Regions from separate parts of the Homo sapiens genome. Here regions 2, 3, 4, 5, 6 and 7 are each linked to region 1. Evidence: promoter capture Hi-C in 16 types of primary human blood cells and fetal thymus (Javierre and others, 2016). All regions are on one chromosome and are shown on one strand. The core of a region is centred on a gene start or on the middle of the fragment in contact, and the rest is flanking DNA. Distances in the headings are between cores, read along the strand shown.

Region 1 (2,798 bases), core at 175-2,674:
GGCGGGAGGTAGACAAGTGCTCGGGAGCCCGCTCCCCAGCGTCCACCTGGTGAAACTTCAGAGCCCCCAGAGGAGAGAACGAAAGAAGCAACCAACCTACACGAAGGATAACAAAACTGGAGGGGAACAGAGGGCGGGACCGGGAGAGCCAGGGTTCACGGACTTCTCTGAGCGGCTTGACCGAGAACCCCCAGGGCTACAGCGAGACGCTCCACTTGTCTCCTTTTGGGTTCTCCGGCAGAAGGCAGACATTTACAGTCCGCTTCCAGCCCCAGGCCGGATCCGGGGAGCGCGGGGCCAGAGCCCCAGGCCGGATCCGGGGAGCGCGGGGCCAGCCTGGCGGTGGTTTTGCCCGAGGAGCGGGCTCCCACGCGCGAGTCAGGCTTCCTCCACCAGGCGCCCAGACCTCGATGCCCATGAACGCTCAGAGTGGGTCCTTAGAACCGCATTTCAACACATCTTACAGGGCTCCGCCAACACACACACAGAACATGCTCCAAGCAGTGCCCGAGCGCACAGGGCAAGCCCGGGAGCAACCCAGAGCTGGGGGAGGAGAAAAGGGGACTCCGGGAGGGACGGGGAAGTAGTTAGACAATAGTCAGGGGAGGTTATTCCCGGGACAAAAAGCACCTGGCAAAGCGCGCCGAGGTCAGTCCCTTCGAATCTCCACATTTCTGACAATGGCTTCCCAGGGAATTTGTTTAAACACCCAAGTGGCAGACAGCAACAAACCCGCACCACAAGCAACAGAGTGCCGTCACGGGAGTCGTAACTACTTTTTCTTTCTCTCTTCCCCACTAGCCCGGCGCAGGCCACGCGAGACGCCGAAGCCAGCAGGTCCCCACACTCTCCGGCTAGACCGTGCCAGCCTGAGCCCCGAGCAAGCTTCGGAGAGGAACAATGGGTGCCCCGCGTCCCACCTGGCACGAACTCTGGGGACAGCCCTCCCTCTACCCTGTGTTCCCCACCCCCGGACAGAGAGAGCTCCCCACGATCCTTGTCCCCAGCCCTAGCGGGGACCTGGCTCACCCCTCGTGAGCCCAGGACTCCAGGCGTTCGTCGGGGACGCCCCCCGGCCACTCACCTGCGGAGAACTGGCCTTGGGCCGATCCCAGGAGAGGCCAAGGAGAGAGGAGCAAGAGCGCCACAAAAGCAGGCAGCGCCGCCGCCGCAGTCGTATCCATGCCGAGTTTGGGAGAAGTTTCAAGCAGCTTTGCAAAGAGCTGCCGGGGGGATCGCCGCGAAATCCACGACGGAGGAGCGGGCCGGGCCTCGCGGGGTGAGGACGGTGAGAGGACAGCCGCCCGCCCGCCCTTTTTCCTTCTTCGCGGTCGCCAAACTACCTCAGGGGCGAAAGCGTCGCCAGCGTCGCCGGCCGGCCGCGGCGGCAGCTCTCCATGCTCGGCGGAGGCTGCTCCTGTTAGTCAAGAGTTACTTTGCTCGGGGAGGGACGGGGGCGGAGCCGGGGGTGACGTCGCCCCGCGGGCTCCGGGCGCTTCTGAGGAATGCGGGCTCGGGCGCGGCGCCGCCACCGCCTCCTGCCGGAGAGACGCGCGCCAGCCCCGGCCGCGCGCCCCGCGCCGCCTTTGTTCGCAGCCTGGGCCCCGCCGCCAGCCGCTGCTCGGAGGGAGCGAGCGAGAAAGGGGAGCCGGCGCAGCTCGCTGCCCTGTTCCAGAACTCAGAATTTGAGAGGCGAGAGTTCGGTAAGCCGTGCGACCAGACGACCGAGGACGCGCGCAGAGAAACCCCCGCCGTCCGAGGAGAGGCGTCCTGGGGTTCCGTCCCAAGGTGGAGGTCCCCCCGAGCGGTTGCTGATTGAAAGGGGAGTGTGGAAGCGCCCTGAGGAAACACCCGCCTGCCTTGAAAACTCCCCGTTCCTTATTCTTGTAATAAGGAATAAGACACCCCACCCCCATCGAAAACTTGTCCCTTATTCATAGAATAAATAAAACTTGAACCAGAATAAACGATCAGTAACTTTCCAGCGTGAACAGCTGGCGTGTCTCCTTTCTGGTTTATTTGTCATTGGCCAAGTATTTGGATTTACTCTGCTTCACTGACTTTGCTTGTTGCTCTGAAACCCTCCGGCCCCTTTCCAGTTCTCACCTAAGAACTGCATCAGGGCTTATTATCCCTTCCTTGCACCTAGGTCTGGTGTGTGTGTGGTTTTGTTTTTTTTAATATCTAGTAGGTAGTTAAGACATAAGTATTTAACAAAAGGACTTTTACACTGACCATGAAAACAGCTTCTTCGGAATGATTCATCTGGCAGAAAATAATGCTATATTATGACAGTAAAATATTTCACAGTTAACTACTTCAGCAGCTTGAAGTGGTTTCGCCATATGCCACCCTGCCTTACTTCTGTGGTAAGACTGTATGGTGCATACTTTATTCATTTTTGTAAAATGTCACAAAAAATAGGTATGGTCACAATTGAATAACATAATAACTTTGATTCAGAATTTTTATGTGTTATGTACAATTGCTAAAACAATAGTCTGTTGATTGACATCTCTCAGTTTCTCAGACATCTTAGCCTTTGTAAATCAAGACAATGTGAAATTCATTTTAATATAACATTCACATAATTTACCAAGCCACATATTCTTTTAATCAAATATATGCTATTAATGACCAGACTTATGACAGAGCCTGTGGAAACAAAAATGTAATAAATATACACACAAATATATACATATATAAATACATATTATACACACATACATATCAGGCAGAAAAGACTTTTAAAAATTCTATGAGAATAGTAGCCTGCTCATTAGCACACTGACTAGCTC
Region 2 (2,798 bases), core at 77-2,576, 810 kb before region 1:
CATTTGTTGTATCATAGGGTACACAATTTGGAACCTGCTGGCCTCTTGGATTTGGAACAAATTTTTGAAGGTTCAGCTGAGGGATCAACACAGTAGTATAATCCATGCTCCAGGGTACCCTTAGGATCAGGCTGGAAAGATTAGGTTGGAGTTCTTATGAAACCATGTATTTATCTAGATCCTTCTCCTATCCTGCTGACTTCTTCCACTTCCATACAGATTTCTCCTAAGAACACTCCAATAAACCACTGAACGAGTATCTTCCCCCTTAACCTGTGCTTCTAGGGAACCTGAGCTAAGATAACAAGGACTAGATGAGTATTTGTCATGGCACATAAGAGTGGAAGTGGGAAAGAAAGAAAACTCAAAGAAGAAAAGATGCAAGACTCCAAAACTAAAAAACCTTGATGTAATATTTTATATATAATTTAGAACATATATATATTATAAAATAAAAACACATAAATGCATTGAGGACTTACTTTTTCTCAGACAAAGCTCCAAGCACTTTACATCTATACATTCATCAAATTATCACAACAACTCTACAATGTAGAGTCTATTTTAGTCCCTATTTTACATATATGTAGGAATTTGAAGCAGAAGGAGGCTCACAAACTTATCCAAGGCAACCCAGTAAACAGGGAGTCAGTATTCAGACCTGGGCAGTCTGGCTTGAGTTCTCATATTCCTAACTTTAATCAGTTCATTCAGCAAACACATATTGAGTGCCAGATATATGCCAGACACTATTCTAAGTGTCTGGGTGTAGTGCAGAAACCAATAAGAAATCCTGCCTTCAGGGGGTTTACAGTCTAGTGTAAAGGAGACAGAAAAGAAACAAGACATGTAAAAGATATAGCTTGTTAGATAGAATAAACTATTATGGAGAAAATTAAGGCAGGGAAGGAGATAGAAAGACCAATAAGAGTTGAGGTTACAGTTTGAGATAGGGTGGCCAGAGCAAGGCACATTGAGAAGGTAATATGTGGATAAAGCCTAAAGGAAGTAAGGGAGTGACCTGTGTGGAGAGGAGAGCAAAAAGTGTTCCAGGCAGGGAGAACAGCAAATGCAAAGGCCTCAGGGTAGGAATAGCCCTGGCATGGTTGATGAATAATGGTGTATTAGTCCATTCTTACACTGCTAATAAAGGTATACCCAAGACTGGGTAATTTATAAAGGAAATAGGTTTAATTGACTCACAGTTCAGCATGGCTGGGGAGGCCTCAGGAAATTTATAATCATGGCAGAAGGGGAAGCAAACACGTCCTTCTTCACATGGTGGCAGCAAGAAGTGCCAAGCAAAAGTGGAAAAAGCCTTTATAAAAGCCATCAGATCTCATGAGAACTCACTCACTATCAGGGGAACAGCATGGGGGAAACTGTCCCCATGACTCAATTACCTCCCACCAGGTCCCTCCCATGACACATGGGGATTATGGGAACTACAATTCAAGACGAGATTTAGATGGGGACACATCCAAACCATATCAAATGGGAAGGTCAGCATGACTTGAGCAAAACGAATAGGAAGAGTACAGAGAGAGAATGGGAATGTATTGTGCACACCTTTCTAGATCATTTTAGGAATTTTGGCTTTTACTCTGAATGAGGTAGGACATGACTGTGGTGTGTAATAATAGCACATATTTTAATGAGATCATTCTGGTTCTCACAATCAGAATAGATTGATAGGTAGCAAGGGCAGGAACAGGAAGAATTGTTACAGGGTTTTTGCAATAATCCAACAGAGATGACTGAAGTTTGGACCACAGCAGTAGAAGTAGAAGCAGTCAGAAGTGTTATAGTTGTGGAAATATTTTCATGGTAAAATCAAAAGAATATTTTTATTCTATTGGATTTCATTTTTAGTAGTCCAGCCTACCGGGGTTATAATTAGATCCTAATTCTGACTCTCCCCAGCGTTTTACATGTTATCATCTTCCTTTTAGAGGCAACTTGAACCAAGAACCTTTGGTTAAACACCTAAAAGTCTCATTATATGTTGACTCTAATCTTAAAGAGTTTTTCTATTAAAATCCTGGATGTAAGAGTTGAGCTAGCCCATCTCAACAATCACATTTTCCTCTTTCCATTTCTCACTCCTTTCTGACAGCCTTTTCCAAAACTGCTTGACTGATTCAATTAGGAAGAGGCCAATATTAATAATTGGTAGTTTTGGCACCTATCTATGCAGCTTGGCCATGCTGTGAAATTTGGTCATTATGACTGAGCTCAGCACTGTAAGTCCATAGGGGATGGAGAGGGCAGGGAGGACAATCTCCCTCCTCATGGCTTTTTTAGCACAAGCAGCCCCCTCCTTAGTGAACAATTTATTTCAATTCTAGTTAAAGAATATTTTAACTTAATCGTTACAGGAAGATAGTTATTCTAGAGTTAAACATAGAAGAGAACACATACAAATAAAAATTAGGAAGTTTATTTTCAACCTTCCCAAATCTCCAATAGGTGAGCATGAAGTTTATTACACTTTTCAATATCAAGACAACTGGAAACACAGTATGTGAAAGGACTTATATTTAGAAATGTTATATATGATTTCTATTAGAAAGCCCTTGATAATTTACAACCAAAGTAAGATATGCATTCTCTTAATTTTCTAATCAAAGAATGGTAGTTACTAAAAGTACAAATTTAATTGTTCTCAAATTCCAAACAAAAATATTAATTATTCACTATTGTTTGAAAAATAACAAATTATATGAGTCTAAAAACACCTATGGTGCAGTTTGTCAAGGCTGTTAGGTTAAGATTCGCTGTGGCCTTCAATAACCAAA
Region 3 (2,798 bases), core at 183-2,682, 780 kb before region 1:
GACAGAGCGAGACTCCTTCTCGTAAAAAGAAGAAAAAGAAAAAGGAAAGAAATTATTTCCAGCTGCCTTTGAGGGCTCAGAATAAATGAAGAACCAGCCAGTTGGGAGGAGGAGGTGATCATGTGAAACAGAGTAGCCTATTTAATGCTGTACCGTAACAAATCGTGGCAAGCATGTCACTTAAATGAGATTTGGTATGAATCCGCAATTTGCTACTTTTCTGATATTCCTGTCTAAGGTTCCACTATGAATAGTCAAAAATACAGAGTGGTTCTTAATACCATTAACTGCAGGGCTGACATTCGCTGGCGTGCACTGTTGAAGAGCAGACATGCATCCATTCTCAATAACTGGGCTCTGATTGGCCAGTGCCCATGTCAATTTTCTCCAGAATCATCTCTGGCTGTACCCACGGGCATGTAAGGACAGGGTTGGAAAAGAGCCATTGGAGAAGAGAGCCCTGGACCTTGAGGTAGAAATAATTCTCCCCTGATTCCTCCAGGGAAAGAAGGAGGAAATTAATTAGAGCAGTGGCAACAGGAACCTAATTGATTTTTTTTTCCTGCTTTGTAGGTCTTTTCTGGGCAGGTGGGAACAAAGGACATTTAAAATCATTTAAAATCCCCGTGAAATTAAGTGCTGGAAACTCAAACACCTTCAGAGCCCATGAAGCAGGACTCAAGATAGAGAATGGAGAAAAAACTAAGGATCATATTTGTGACTGATTCTATGGCTGAAGTTACCCGTTTGTGACCCCTGGTAGATAGCCTCTAGTGGATTTAAATGTTGCTAAAAAAAACTTTATTGGATGTAAAATTCAAACTGTGATTATTTTTAAAATGCAACAAATGTGATTTAATCAAACTCAACTGCATAGTCAGTCCAACTGGTTCTCCTGAAAGTGGTTCTTAACTGGCCTGAAACTTCCCAATGTCATCAAAAAGGGTGACCATATATAAGTCCAGGCTTGTTTTGCTGACATGCTTTGGACGACATGAGAACGTAAATAACGGCCATTTTTTTCTTTAGCTATCCGAAAATAAAGCTAGTATGTGCTTACAAATAGCTGTGGAGAAGAAGAGAATTTATATATTCAAGCAATCTGTGATGAACATAGCATTATACCTCCAGAGAGCATTTACGAGTCACTAGAACTCCGCTATATAAACTATAAACCACTTACTACTATCTTTTCTTAAGTAAAAAGAAATAAAAATTTAGGGGACATTTTGTGACATATATTTTTTATATTACCAGTAAGTGCTCTAAAATTCAAAAAGCTTCTTAAAAATTTTGCTCTTGTAATAATGTTTGAAAATATTTCCACTTCTCTCTTACCCTCCATCATACACAGAGAAACATTTGCACATTTACTTCCCCACACCTGAAAAGTACTTAAATTTTATAGATAACATCTATTAGAACCCAGTAAAACCCTACAAATACTGTAGCTCTGTAGGAAATTCTGTTTTAAATATTCAAACATAGTATCCAACTTTACTATTTCTCAGCAAATATGTGGTTTATAGGCACAGAAGCAGCAAAAGCTAGCAGTTCACAACCCATAAGTTATAAACCTATGCGTAAGCTTACCATTTCCTTTAAACTTGATGTTAAGTTTTCTGGTGCATTTTCAATAACTTTTAAGGGTCAAATAATGGTGTGTACCTCATTTAAAATTAAATAATTATTTTTATTTTTCTTGATGTCTCTTCTGATCTTGAAAATAGCTGATAGAACAGCATTGTTTGATGTTGCTTATCAAATTTTATTTGCAATATTATAGACTTAGAATCATAGAAGGAGGAAAAAATTGCTAGATATATTATGTACCACACTCCATAACAAAATAAAGATGCAAAAATAAACCAAAGGAGGAGAATAAACCGACTAAGGATATATGACAGCTTCAGAATGAATTAAGGTTTGAAGCACACAAAAATCCAGACGCACAGCAGAAAGTGTTCAACTAGGTATTTAGAAACTTTGATTTCTTCAGTTATCTAAGTGACCTGTGGAAGTCATTTATGGTTACACTGCCTTTCAGTAAATCCTTTGCTGCATCAGCTTATTCTCATAACAGAGATCAAATTAATTTCTTAATCTGCAATATAAGAGTAACAGCTACTGGCTGGCCAAAATAATGGGTCAAGGTTACATGAGGCTGCTCAGGCTAGATATAAGAGAAGGAACCATTAAAATCCATTAGGTGACAGTTGGTCCCAAGCAACTGGCAGTAGCGAAAATGATAAAAGATATTGCTACAGAACAAGTGAAAACAATTTAAACACATTCTAGGTGGAACAGTCAAGAGGATCACATGAAATACAGGGAGAGTGGGCAAGGAGGATATGAGCCATTGTGGAAAACAGTATGAAGGTCTGTCAAGAAATTAAACACAGAATCACCAGGCTGAGTATGGTGGCTCACACCTGTAATCCCAGCAATTTGAGAGGCTGAGGTAGGCAGATCACCTGATGTCAGGAGTTTTGAGGACAGCCTGGCCAACATGGTGAAACCCCGTCTCTATCAAAAAATGCAAAAAGATTAGCTGGGCATGGTGGTGTGTGCCTGTAGTCCCAGCTACTTGGGAGGCTGAGGCAAGAGAATCACTTGAACCCAGGAGGCAGAGGTTGCAGTGAGCGGAGATCATGCCACTGCACTCCAGCCTGAGTGACAGAGTGAGACTCTGCTTAAAAAAAAAAAAAAACAAACAAAAAAACAAACAAAAAAACAAAAAAACAAAACAAAACAAAGATAGAATCACCAAATGATGTAGTAACTCTGCTTCTGCTTAT
Region 4 (2,798 bases), core at 201-2,700, 760 kb before region 1:
CCACGGATTTCTGCAAGTATTGTTGAAGTACTGGCAATGTATCTAAGCCTTGGGTAAATATACAAATTTTTTCTTGAATAGACAAAAATGTACTAAAAATGTGATAATCTCTAGAGATACTAATATGTTTAAGTACTTTATATGTAAAAAGAATTTAATTCACCCGTGCATACATAAATGGCAGATAGCTATAGACGTAGACTATATTTACATATATATATATGTAAGTGAAAGTGATACATGTCACACATGTCACTTTTTTTTTTTTCTTTTTTGAGACGGAGTCTCGCTTTGTCGCCCAGGCTGGAGTGCAGTGGCGCTATCTCGGCTCACTGCAAGCTCTGCCTCCCGGGTTCACGCCATTCTCCTGCCTCAGCCTCCCGATTAGCTGGGACTACAGGCGCCCGCCACCACGCCCGGCTAGATTTTCGTATTTTTTAGTAGAGACGGGGTTTCACCTTGTTAGCCAGGATGGTCTCGATCTCCTGACCTCGTGATTGGCCCGCCTCGGCCTCCCAAAGTGCTGGGATTACAGGCATGAACCACCATGCCCGGCCCATATATCACATTTTATTGGCCAAGTCAAGTCATATAGACAAGTCTAATATCAGTATAGCTAAGAATATTATCTTCAGGAATTACCTGGTAGAGAGCGATCAGGTAATAAAGGGCAGTACATATTTAGACAATAATTATTCTCTATAGATTGATAGGTACATACATACATAAATATAGATAGATAAATTATATTCACATACGAATATGTATATATACACACACCCACACACATAGATATATGTTATATACAAATACACATATATGTATATAACAATATATATTTATATACTTATACATGTTCATAACAAAAGAGATTTGAACTGGTTAAAAATTATACATAAAATTAACAGATTACAAAAATAAAGAATTAAGAATAGAATAAAAATAAGATGTAATTTAAAAGGAGGGAGTATACAAATATCAAATCATAAGATGTTTTATGGTTGATAGAGTTGGACTGTAAATTGGGTTCTGAACTTCCTAGTATCCCAAAAGAGGAAATACATAATCAATTTCTACACTTAAACCCACAAACGGATCAATTTCTTAGAGAAACATGGCTTAACTGGAAGAATTTATGAAAATACCTTGTAATAATGAAAAACCCATTCCTTAACAATTACCTTATAATAAATATATATTATATATATAACATATATAATATATATTATAAATATTTAATACTACAGTAAAAGAATAGCCCTAATGCCTCATAGGTGCCCAATACATATTTCTTGAATGAAATATGTCTTGAATGGAAAAAGAAAGGCAGAAATGTCAAATTCCCTATAGCAGAAAGATAAAAAAGTGACTTAATGTAAGCTAAAGGTGTAACATTAAAGTTGAAAAAAGTAAAAGATCTTTCACAAGAAGGCAACTATATAAATATGTGTATGCATATCAAGATTTCTAATTGTGTGATTTAATACAAAAATGTTTAGAGTATGTAGAAGAATAAACGAACTACAGGTGATACAGGTAATCACATGAAAGAAAGAAAGAATTATTGGATCATTTTGTGAAAAAGAAACTGTTTCTTTGTTGGGCAAGTAACACAATCAGAATTATAATAAAAGTTTACAAGACTTTTGAGTCCAAAATTGTGTAATTTAAGCCAGTTACTTAGGTAATTGGTGCAGTATTATGCACAATTTATGAACTTACAAAATAGTTAACCAGCAGAACTCAATGCTAGACATGTCAAGAAGTCTGGAAAGAATTATATTACAAGACAGTCATATTAGATATTCTATTTTGAAATGGCTGTGTATTACATACAGAAATTGGTTGTGTTTTCAGAACTCAAGAAGAGTACCTTTATTTTAATTAGTAAAGAAGAGGAGTTTGCTATTTAAGCATAAATTTATACAGGGGAATGAAGTAATACTTTTAAATAAAGATGCTTGATTATAAGAAAATTGCATATACTAAACTTTTAGAACACAGCACAATGCTCTCAAAAATGTTAAGCAAATTAATCAATGAATAACACTTATAGGTAAATTTTGAGGTTTGCTCAGTCCATATTCACAAATATGTAGGCTGATGACACCAAAATATACATCTCTGACTGTAACCTCTTCCCTAATCACTGGACTCATATAAATTGAATATATTCAACTACCCTCCAAGGGGTGAAGTTGGGTGTTCAAAGGGTATGAATGTTTAATTTCAAATTTAATATTTCCAAAACTTAATTATTCACTTCTCCTCAAACATATTTCCACACCAGTCTTCCTCATCGCAGTAAGTGGAAAATTTGTTCTCCCAGCTGCACATGTTAATAACCTTAGAGTCAACCTTAACACTTTATCTCACATATATTCATCATTGAATTACGTTGACTCTGTCTTCAAACACATCCAGCATGTAACCACATCTCATCACATCTATCGCTACATCCCTAGTCCAAGTCACCACTCCCTCTTCACAGGATTATTTAAAAGGTTTTTCGTATGTTGTTTATTTTCCTTTTCTTCTTTCTTCCTTCTTTCCTTCCTTCCTTCCCTCCTTTCTTTCCCTCCTTTCCTCATTCCTTCCCTCCTTCCCTCCCTCCCTCCCTCCCTCCCTCCCTCCTTCCTTCCTTCCTTCCTTCCTCTCTCTCTCTCTTTCTTTCTCTTGATCCCTTTATAATCTCTTGTTCATAGGGTAACCAAAGGGATCATTCTGAAATGTAAATTAGATTATGTAGCTTCCCAACTGAAAACCCTATGATTTTTACAGTGTCAAGTCTTATGTCT
Region 5 (2,798 bases), core at 200-2,699, 730 kb before region 1:
TTTCTTTTTCTGACAGGCTCAAGTTTGCTGACATTTAAGGCACTGAAAGTACCTCATCTTCTCATATGTACTCCCTCTTAGTAGGAGATCTTTTTAGGAAGCAGCTTTATTTATTATTAAAAGTTTGAATATTTTATAAAACATTAATGACTTTGATAGCTCTAGGTATTCAATAAGATATTTTGCACTATTTGCACCCTGGGACAATCCTCTCAAAAAGTGAAATTTTATAAACCACATGGATAAAAGTACATAAATAAATGTGGCATTCTTATTTTTCTCAGGTAACAGAAAGCAAAATTACCCTGTTCTAGCCTACATATTTGAACAGTAAGTAGAATCATAATATCTTCAACAGCTTGGCCATCTGTTATTGTTCCAAAAAGCTTCAGGGAATAGTCTGTGTAATGGAATGTAAAACATTATCAACTGCTATGGTCTGAAACGTTGTGAAATAGAATCTGTAAAACTTTGTAGCCAGATAAACCAATTCAGAAAAATAAAAAGTGAGCATAGAACCAAAATTTGGGAAAAATAAAAGGTAGGTTTGTTTATATCTAAACTTAAGTATTTAAAATGAATATACTGATACTGACAGCCAGTGTTGGTTGAGTATTCATTAGGTACCAAGTACTATTCTAAGTGGTTTTCTTGAATGAGCTTTCTTAAGCCTCACAACAATTCTCTAGGGCATGTTACTATGCTTGTTTTATGAACTAGAAAATTGAGAAAAAGGGAGATTAAATAATTTGCCCAAGACCAACAGTTAGAAATGGCAGGCTAAGGACTTCTGAAAATCTATTTCAGCATAAAGGCAATGACCACTAGCAAAATTTGTCAGAATCAACTTTTGCAGAACTCTAGAAATTAACGAAAAAGAAATCTTTTTTTTAAGAAAAGTGACTAAATCTTGATAAGAATGTGAGCTTTGTGACGTTTTGAATTGTCCTATAGCAATTCTTCTCAGCTGCATGACAGACTTGAAAACCAGCAGCCTTGCAATCACAGTAGCTGTGAGAAAAAGCAACTTTGCAACCACCAAAGAGGGGGACACTGGGTTTGGAGCTCCTAAAAAAACTCGATTCCAAGAGCATTGCCACTATGTTAGCTGTTAGGAATCTCCCTGAAAAAGCACCCTTTCTAGGATTTGTCTTTACTCAAGCTGACTCCCTACTGTCCCCAGGAAAAGCCATATCAAAGAATCAGCAGCAATTATTAACCATTGCATCTTCCAGAGGCTGTGATGCTAATTGTGGCAAACAGGAAGCAAGATATAGGGTTTTTTTTAATATATTCTAAATTTTCCCAACTTTCCTGTTTATCTTTGTCTCTTTCCTGCACTCTAGCATGCACATGTGTGCACGCACACACACACACACACACAAACACATGCACACATCACCTTCTTCCTTTAGCTGGAAAACTTGCATAGATCTACTCATGCACATAAAAGGCCTCAGATATCACTAGTCCACTAGGTCCGCCAAGATGAATCTAGTCTGCTCCTAGCTGACACTCTGCTGCACCCATGTCACCATGTTCTTTGCATGGCATCACCTTATCTTGATATGTTTCAAAGAAATTCAAACCTACCACTGGCACCAGGGAAATGCTTTTATCTCTCTATCTCAACTGTCCTGAAAGTATGTGTGTGTAAAGAACTCCATACTGTAAACATATTATTACTGGGATCTGTTTTTTGAATGTATCATAGAGAACACATGATATATACAATATCTTGATAAACGATACCATAAAATGATTCTCGTTTCTCATCATTACAAACATCAGCATGGCATGAGGTTAATAAAGGAATGACATCTGTATTATCTAAAATTAAGTCTACTAACTATATTTATAAGCTAAAAAGTCAGCCTGCCACAGTGATAGGTAGATAGATAGATAGATAGATAGATAGATAGATAGAGATAGACAGATATAGATAGATAGATAGATAGATAGATAGATATAGATAGATAGATAGATAGATAGATAGATAGATAGATAAATAGATGCTCTTCTGGTAATAAACACAAAGTGTCTAGATTAGAAAACAGATAGTTGAATATTCACAGAGCATCTTAGCACTGAGAAGGCTATGAGAGACTAATGTTATCCTGCACAGACAAGAGTTGAGTATACCACCATGGACTCACAAACTATGACACTTGGAGTTTGGCTGGCACATTGACCCATCCTTTCCTCAGGTGAGGGAGAGTCTTTTATTTTGCGATGTTAGCAAATGTTTACAGGGGAGACGTCTCTAAACCTCTCTGAAGCAACCTACTATCTCTATCTTCCAAGATACATTTGCTATTCAACCCTACTTTAACCAAGTTTGCCAGTGGTCTTTCCTCAAAAAGATTGGACTGTGTGGTAATCTGAAAATATTTCATGGAGAATTGCCTCTCAATAATCAAATCCAGGGATTGACACCAACCTAGTGACTTTCCCTGATTTACTCTACAGCTTTTGGTATTGAATAATGAAAGGTTGAGGGATGAATACAAAGGAAGCTTCTTATCCCACAGGAAAAAATTAAAATGCTTTATTTGCCAATATTGACATTTTCATTAAACAAATGAATGACATTCATAATTATTACCTTAATTAAAACTATCAGAACTTTTGAGAGTATTCATTTACGGACAGTAAGAAGGTACTCAATTGTATTTTCAGATTATAGTACTCTACTTGAAAATAAGTTATTTTAACATTTTAGCCCCATATATTTTCTTGAAAAGGCACAACAAAAATGATCACATCAGCAGAGATTATTTCTTTCATCATTAAAGAGG
Region 6 (2,798 bases), core at 181-2,680, 710 kb before region 1:
TCTCTACTAAAAATACAAAAATTACCTGGACGTGGTGGGGGGTGCCTGTAATCCCAGCTACGTGGGAGGCTGAGGCAGAGAATTGCTTGAACCCGGGAGGCAGAGGTTGCAGCGAGCCAAGATCACGCCATTGCACTCCAGCCTAGGCAACAGAGTGAGAATTCATTAAAAAAAAAAAAGCTAAAATTGTATCTCACAGTCAAAAAAGCTAAAATTGTATCTCACAGTCAAAAAAGCTAAAATTGTATCTCACAGTCAAAATTTGTCAATTTTTTAAAGGAAGTTCAAAAGTTTCCTTTATTTCTCTTATTTTCAGATTCAAAAACCCAATATTTAAATATGTCCGTATTCTATCTTCATTGTGTTGGGTCTTTGAAAAACTCTCTAACAGTAATCTTCCCTATTCAGAGGGAAATCAGTACTACAGCTTCTATATTACACGAAAAGGACCTACCATGAGTAGAAAGGTGTGAGTGTTCAGAAGCTCAGAGTCAGCTACAAATTCAAACACTCTTAATGTATTTATACTACATCAGGTTAACAAAAACAAAAACAAGTCACATTGTTTGTGACCAAACCCTATTGATAACAAACAAGTGGGTATAATACTACTCTCTAATGATCTAGATTTAGCCCAGTAACGTGGATTTCTCTAACACATTTCAGCCACTGTAACTGTCAAACCAGATCAGAAGTGACAATTTAGCACCAGCAGCAGCTGCTGAAGTGTTCTCTGTGCACTCCCCAGGAACCATTGCTTTCCTTCTGCCTTTTTCAGCCCTCACTCTAATTCTGGTGCAGGATTTTTTTCTGCTCATTTCACAGTACCTTGCCATTACTGCCTCCCTTGCTCTTTGCCTTAATGTCTCCTATGGGTGTTCTTGTCCGACAGAAATCTAGAAACTCAGGCAGCAAAGTGGACACTTGGGCATTAAATGGCCAAACAGAGTTAGTGAAATACAAGATTTCTGGTCCCAGCTGCAGTCTCTGAAGACATGGAATATCTCATCTTTCAACCAAAGGTTTGTTTTCTGTCTTGTTATAGACCCTTTCATCAGAATACAGAAGTTGCATTTCTCCTGTGTGGCACTCAGGAGTCGTAGCTATATATATCCACGACAGGCAAAAACCCCAGTGAGTATATGTTCTTCTGAACTATCTGAAACCACTTCTAACATACAAACCAACCTTCAAGGAAGGAGAATCTACCTGACAACATTTCTATTTAGAACACAATTTCAGGCCCAGCTTCATTTATTTAGTCACTTTATAATATTGTTTCCATCAGATTAAAATTCAGATGCACAGATCCTAAAGACATTATTTCTGCATTATGTCATAAACCTAAAGAAAATTTTGAGGATTCCCCTGGCCTATTCCCACTCCTTTGTTTAGATTCCATACATTATCCTTATAAACAGTTAACTAACACATTTAAAGAACAACTATAATATTATTTCACATAAAATCTCATAGGTCTTGAAGTAGGCTATAATCCTGTTGGTAACCATACCCCCACTCGTGTCCCTGCCCAAACTGAAATTATAATTCTAAAGTTTCTACACCAATCTATTTTTTTTTCTTTTTAGGTATTGCTAAAGCTGGAGAACAGTTGCCAATCTTACCTTGGAAAACAATTCTTTCTATTTCTCCTAGTTCCTGTAACCTGTCCTCATATATTCTTAATTTCCAAACATTTTAGATGAGCTTGTAGTGTTCATAACCAACCGCAGATACCTGCTATAGGTTAATTTGGCTAATGCAGGGTGAATTTTAGATTCTTACTCTTAGATTGCCCATACATCTGTCTGTTACTTAATGCAAGAAATGATTTAGTAAAGTTAATGATCCATTGGGAAGGCAAAAGTAAATTCATATAATGAAGCATCTAGGACTCTTCTCTGTGCATGTAAAACCACATTTTAATGAGCTAAATGAGTTTGAATATTTAAACTCTGAATAACTCTTACTATTTGTTATCCAAATTTAAAGCAATATTCCATATATAATCCATAATCTTAGAGGCTGTTTTTTAATGGCTGATTCCTACCTATGAAGTATAAAAAATGTTCTTCAAAAGCACACATGATAGAAGAGACTTCATGTAAATATCAAAAGAAACATAAAAGGAATATATGAAAGGATGACTTTGTGAGAATAAGAAATATTTGCAAAATTTTTGGAGTAGATTATGAAGAAACTGAAAGAGCTTCTGTTTACATTCTATAAACAATGTATTAAGCAGATTCCTGCCTTCATGGTAAAAAATAATCGCTGAAAATAAGGAGGTTAGTAGGTCTAAATACAGGTGAATTGTAGCATCCTCTGACATTTTAAAGTGATTTCAGAGAAAATATAATGCTTTATCTATCACACTAGAATTAAAGGAACTATTCATAAACAAAGAACTGTAGACTCTTCTCAACTGTCTGATAAATTCTCAACCAAAGCAGGGATTCCCTGACAATATCACTGACATGATTTCCTATCTTCTACTATAAACATTTTGGGGAGAAGAAACCTGTTCCAACATATTACACCAAATTTGTCCTCCCTTTAACTTTCACCCAGTGTTGAAGATGTCATAATGGAATATAAGTCTGCACTCTGCCACAAAGCAACTATTTAAATGTATAAAATAACTAATATCATCTAGTATCAAGTCTTCCAATTTTAGATTATCACTCAATGTCTTCAACTATTCCTCAAATGAAAATGGCTCCAGAACCTCTTAACATCTTTAACAGCTCCTTACAAACTCCAGTTAAAAGTCTCTAGAGTGAGACTCAGAATTGAAC
Region 7 (2,798 bases), core at 189-2,688, 680 kb before region 1:
AAAAAAAAAGCTGGGCGTGGTGGTGCGTGCCTGTAGTCCCAGCTGCTAAGAAGGCTGAGGTAGGAGAATCGCTTGAACCTAGGAGATGAAGGTTGTAGTGAGCAAAGAACATGTCACTGCACTCCAGCCTGGGCAACAGAGTGAGACTCCATCACAAAACAATAATAGTAATAATAATAATAATTGAATTGAAACTGTCTGCAGTAGCTATTAATAGTTTTTCATATTGCTTTTACCTGCAGAGGTAAAAGAATATATCATAAAATCTTTCAATTCATTTTTACCTCTTTGGTTCAACCATTGCATGGGGAAAACAAATAAACTTTCCCAGTAACATTTAAACTCCTTGAAAGGAGTGACTGCAAAACCTAACACATTTGGGATGCTTAACAAATTACATATTAATAATGTTAGCTCTTAAGATCAAATGATATAATCTGATATCTAGGCCTAAAGCTTTATTGTAGTCACAGCTTATTAATAAATGTGCCGCACGTCATACATACACTTGTTCATGTTAAAACTTTCTCTCTCCCAGGCAGCGAGAGTGAGTAATAGACCTACGATGAGGAGAGAGAATGTGAGAAATTGTTATTTTCATAACCTTGATGGCAACACAGCTCCCTAGATGCTCATTAGTTCTGCAGAGCACTGTTCCTTGTGTTTTGAGAAGACACATAGAGGTATCAGGGCTAGAAAGAACCTCCACAGACCTTAGGCACCCCCAAACCTCTCACAAAGCATTGTTAAGAGGATCTTCACAATACCACATATTTGCTGTTCCTAGCCCTAGGTGATTTTAGGTAGAATTTTCAGGATTCCCAGGCCCTAGGTGATTTTGGGCAGTAGAACTTTCAGGATAAAGGGAACACAACTAGAGTGGGGTGGTTAAGATTATGGCTTGACAATTCCTATTAGCCTGGGTTTTAATTCTGGCCTCAGCCCCTTCCTTAACATGTATACTTCAGAATTTAAAGTCTCAGGGCTACAATTTCATTTTTCATAAAATGAGAAAAATTATATCATCTACCACATAAAGTCATTGTGGTGATTAAATAAGCTAATACAGGTAACATGATTAGGTAGTACTTAACAGCTAGTAAGCACCAAATGATTAAAAACATAGTGGTTATTAAGTCTCCTCATTTGCCTTTACCCTGGGATTCTAAGCCATTGTAGGATGGTTATAAGGTCAGAAAAATTGGTACCTATGTAATTTCAATGCCAACGAGGACAAATTAGATATTCTAGCCTGGATCAAAATCGAGATAACAAAATATATGGAATCTACAGCTCAGCATCTGGCACAGATTGAGCAAAAATTTCCAGGAATGATAATTTCCACAGATTTCACCAGCATGTTTGAATATGGAAATGAGCCTCAGGTGACCTCTTTAGGTGGACTGCCTTTGGAGAAATATTTCCAGGTTGCTTTGAGGAGCTTGTCCGACCCCATGCTTTGATAAATTACTTAGAATTTAACCATCATAATTTTATGCCCATAATGAGCAGATTAGAGGGAGAATAAAAGATGTAAGCACATTTTAAATGCAAATATTATGCTGCTCGTTGTTATTCACAAGGTATACATTATACACAGTTACTGAAGTTCCCTTGAACAAAGAAAACAGCAAAATGCCAAGGCATTTTTGAAAAAGTGTTTTATTCATGACTCTGAAAGGTAGCTGAAGCCAGTTGAGGGAGGACTATACCCTCCCTCTATTTTAATGATCTTAATTTTGTTAATGGAATGTTAGTAGAAAGAGTTTGGGAGCCATGTGGAGCTGATTGTGTTGTTCAGTATTGATGTTGCCTGCAAATTAAATGTACCTAAGTAGCCACCTGTTTATGCTTATGATTATGTAAAGCCCCATATGTTTCTCTCTCTACACATGGGAGGTAAATATTGAAGAAATTATTCTGGTGTGAAGGGTGAAAACAGCAGCAATTCTTCTATAACTGTCAACATATGCTGTGGTGTTTCCTTGTAACATTGTGCTTTGTCTGACATATTTGCTGATTTTTATCATGCAGTGTTCAAAAAAATCTGTTACCCATGGTTATACAAAACAATTAAAAATCAGTTTACATTAAATTCAAATTAGAAAGAGCTATAATTTCCCAATGTAACCATAAGTATTAAATGAATGTCAGGGCTTAGGATTTAAATAGATTTTGATTTGCACAATAAAGAAAACTGAATTTTTGTTTTTCTAAATTCACCAGTATATAAAAAGGAGCATTTTCTCTCTAAACACATTCTTTTGGTTCCATATTACTAGGCAATAAAACTAACTTCAACAGCATGAATTTGAAAATCCTGCCTAAAATCAGCACTGGGCTCATGAACTGGCTAACCCACAACTCTCCCAGTGGATTTGACTTGGACAGGAGCTTACTGGCCCCTGACGGTCCTCTCTGGAAGCTTTGACCTGGTACCTGGTCAGCACGAACACCTGAACAGCTCTGAGATGAATTTCTTCAGAGCACTGGGGGGTCTCGTGCAAGTAACTCCTATGGAACTGCCTCAAAACTATTCAGAGATTGACCCAGACAGTCACTTCCAGGAAAGAGCACAGCATTTGGAGCTGCTATTGTTGATCACTTTAGACACTGAAGATAAACAAATTGGGGTTTTCCAAGGTTTGTGTTTGATTAAGAGGAGTTTAAATGCTGGCTGTCTGGCAGCCCTGGATATGGCCGTCCCTGACCTTCCAATATAAAGTATACACAAAAAGACACAGAAAATGATAGAAAACGATGAAAACTTACCATATCATCAAAAACTAAGAATAATA

The links. Contacts are between HindIII fragments. The CHiCAGO score rates a contact against its expected background, and 5 or more counts as called.
Region 2: a fragment that was not itself captured here is called in contact with the fragment with the promoter of PTPRK in region 1 in 7 of 17 cell types (fetal thymus, naive CD8 T cells, total CD4 T cells and 4 more); the score reaches 10.8 in fetal thymus.
Region 3: a fragment that was not itself captured here is called in contact with the fragment with the promoter of PTPRK in region 1 in 10 of 17 cell types (fetal thymus, naive CD4 T cells, naive CD8 T cells and 7 more); the score reaches 21.0 in fetal thymus.
Region 4: a contact is called between a fragment that was not itself captured here and the fragment with the promoter of PTPRK in region 1, in 4 of 17 cell types (fetal thymus, naive CD4 T cells, naive CD8 T cells and 1 more). The highest score is 7.6, in fetal thymus.
Region 5: a contact is called between a fragment that was not itself captured here and the fragment with the promoter of PTPRK in region 1, in 7 of 17 cell types (fetal thymus, naive CD8 T cells, total CD8 T cells and 4 more). The highest score is 15.1, in fetal thymus.
Region 6: a contact is called between a fragment that was not itself captured here and the fragment with the promoter of PTPRK in region 1, in 1 of 17 cell types (fetal thymus). The highest score is 10.1, in fetal thymus.
Region 7: a fragment that was not itself captured here is called in contact with the fragment with the promoter of PTPRK in region 1 in 5 of 17 cell types (fetal thymus, naive CD8 T cells, non-activated CD4 T cells and 2 more); the score reaches 9.1 in fetal thymus.

The regions. Positions count from the first base shown.
Region 1 is chr6:128,519,175-128,521,972 of GRCh38, forward strand. It overlaps PTPRK (protein tyrosine phosphatase receptor type K), which reads right to left and starts at 1,425. Exons shown (of 30, transcript NM_002844.4): 1 at 1,085-1,425. The coding sequence starts at 1,184. RefSeq lists enhancers at 599-1,192, 1,193-1,787. The HindIII fragment of the contact is 3,706 bases long and covers 884-2,798 here.
Region 2 is chr6:127,705,776-127,708,573 of GRCh38, forward strand. THEMIS (thymocyte selection associated) reads right to left here. Exons shown (of 6, transcript NM_001010923.3): 6 at 2,425-2,798. Among named protein-coding and RNA genes, the nearest start is that of LINC02536, 43 kb to the left of the region's middle. The HindIII fragment of the contact is 3,320 bases long and covers 1-2,798 here.
Region 3 is chr6:127,739,619-127,742,416 of GRCh38, forward strand. All of the region lies in intron 4 of THEMIS (thymocyte selection associated), which reads right to left. Among named protein-coding and RNA genes, the nearest start is that of LINC02536, 77 kb to the left of the region's middle. The HindIII fragment of the contact is 308 bases long and covers 1,279-1,586 here.
Region 4 is chr6:127,757,226-127,760,023 of GRCh38, forward strand. The region is part of intron 4 of THEMIS (thymocyte selection associated); the gene reads right to left. Among named protein-coding and RNA genes, the nearest start is that of LINC02536, 95 kb to the left of the region's middle. The HindIII fragment of the contact is 4,314 bases long and covers 1-2,798 here.
Region 5 is chr6:127,785,913-127,788,710 of GRCh38, forward strand. All of the region lies in intron 4 of THEMIS (thymocyte selection associated), which reads right to left. Among named protein-coding and RNA genes, the nearest start is that of THEMIS, 110 kb to the right of the region's middle. The HindIII fragment of the contact is 2,130 bases long and covers 385-2,514 here.
Region 6 is chr6:127,807,191-127,809,988 of GRCh38, forward strand. The region is part of intron 4 of THEMIS (thymocyte selection associated); the gene reads right to left. Among named protein-coding and RNA genes, the nearest start is that of THEMIS, 92 kb to the right of the region's middle. The HindIII fragment of the contact is 4,715 bases long and covers 1-2,798 here.
Region 7 is chr6:127,834,429-127,837,226 of GRCh38, forward strand. All of the region lies in intron 2 of THEMIS (thymocyte selection associated), which reads right to left. Among named protein-coding and RNA genes, the nearest start is that of THEMIS, 65 kb to the right of the region's middle. The HindIII fragment of the contact is 1,969 bases long and covers 455-2,423 here.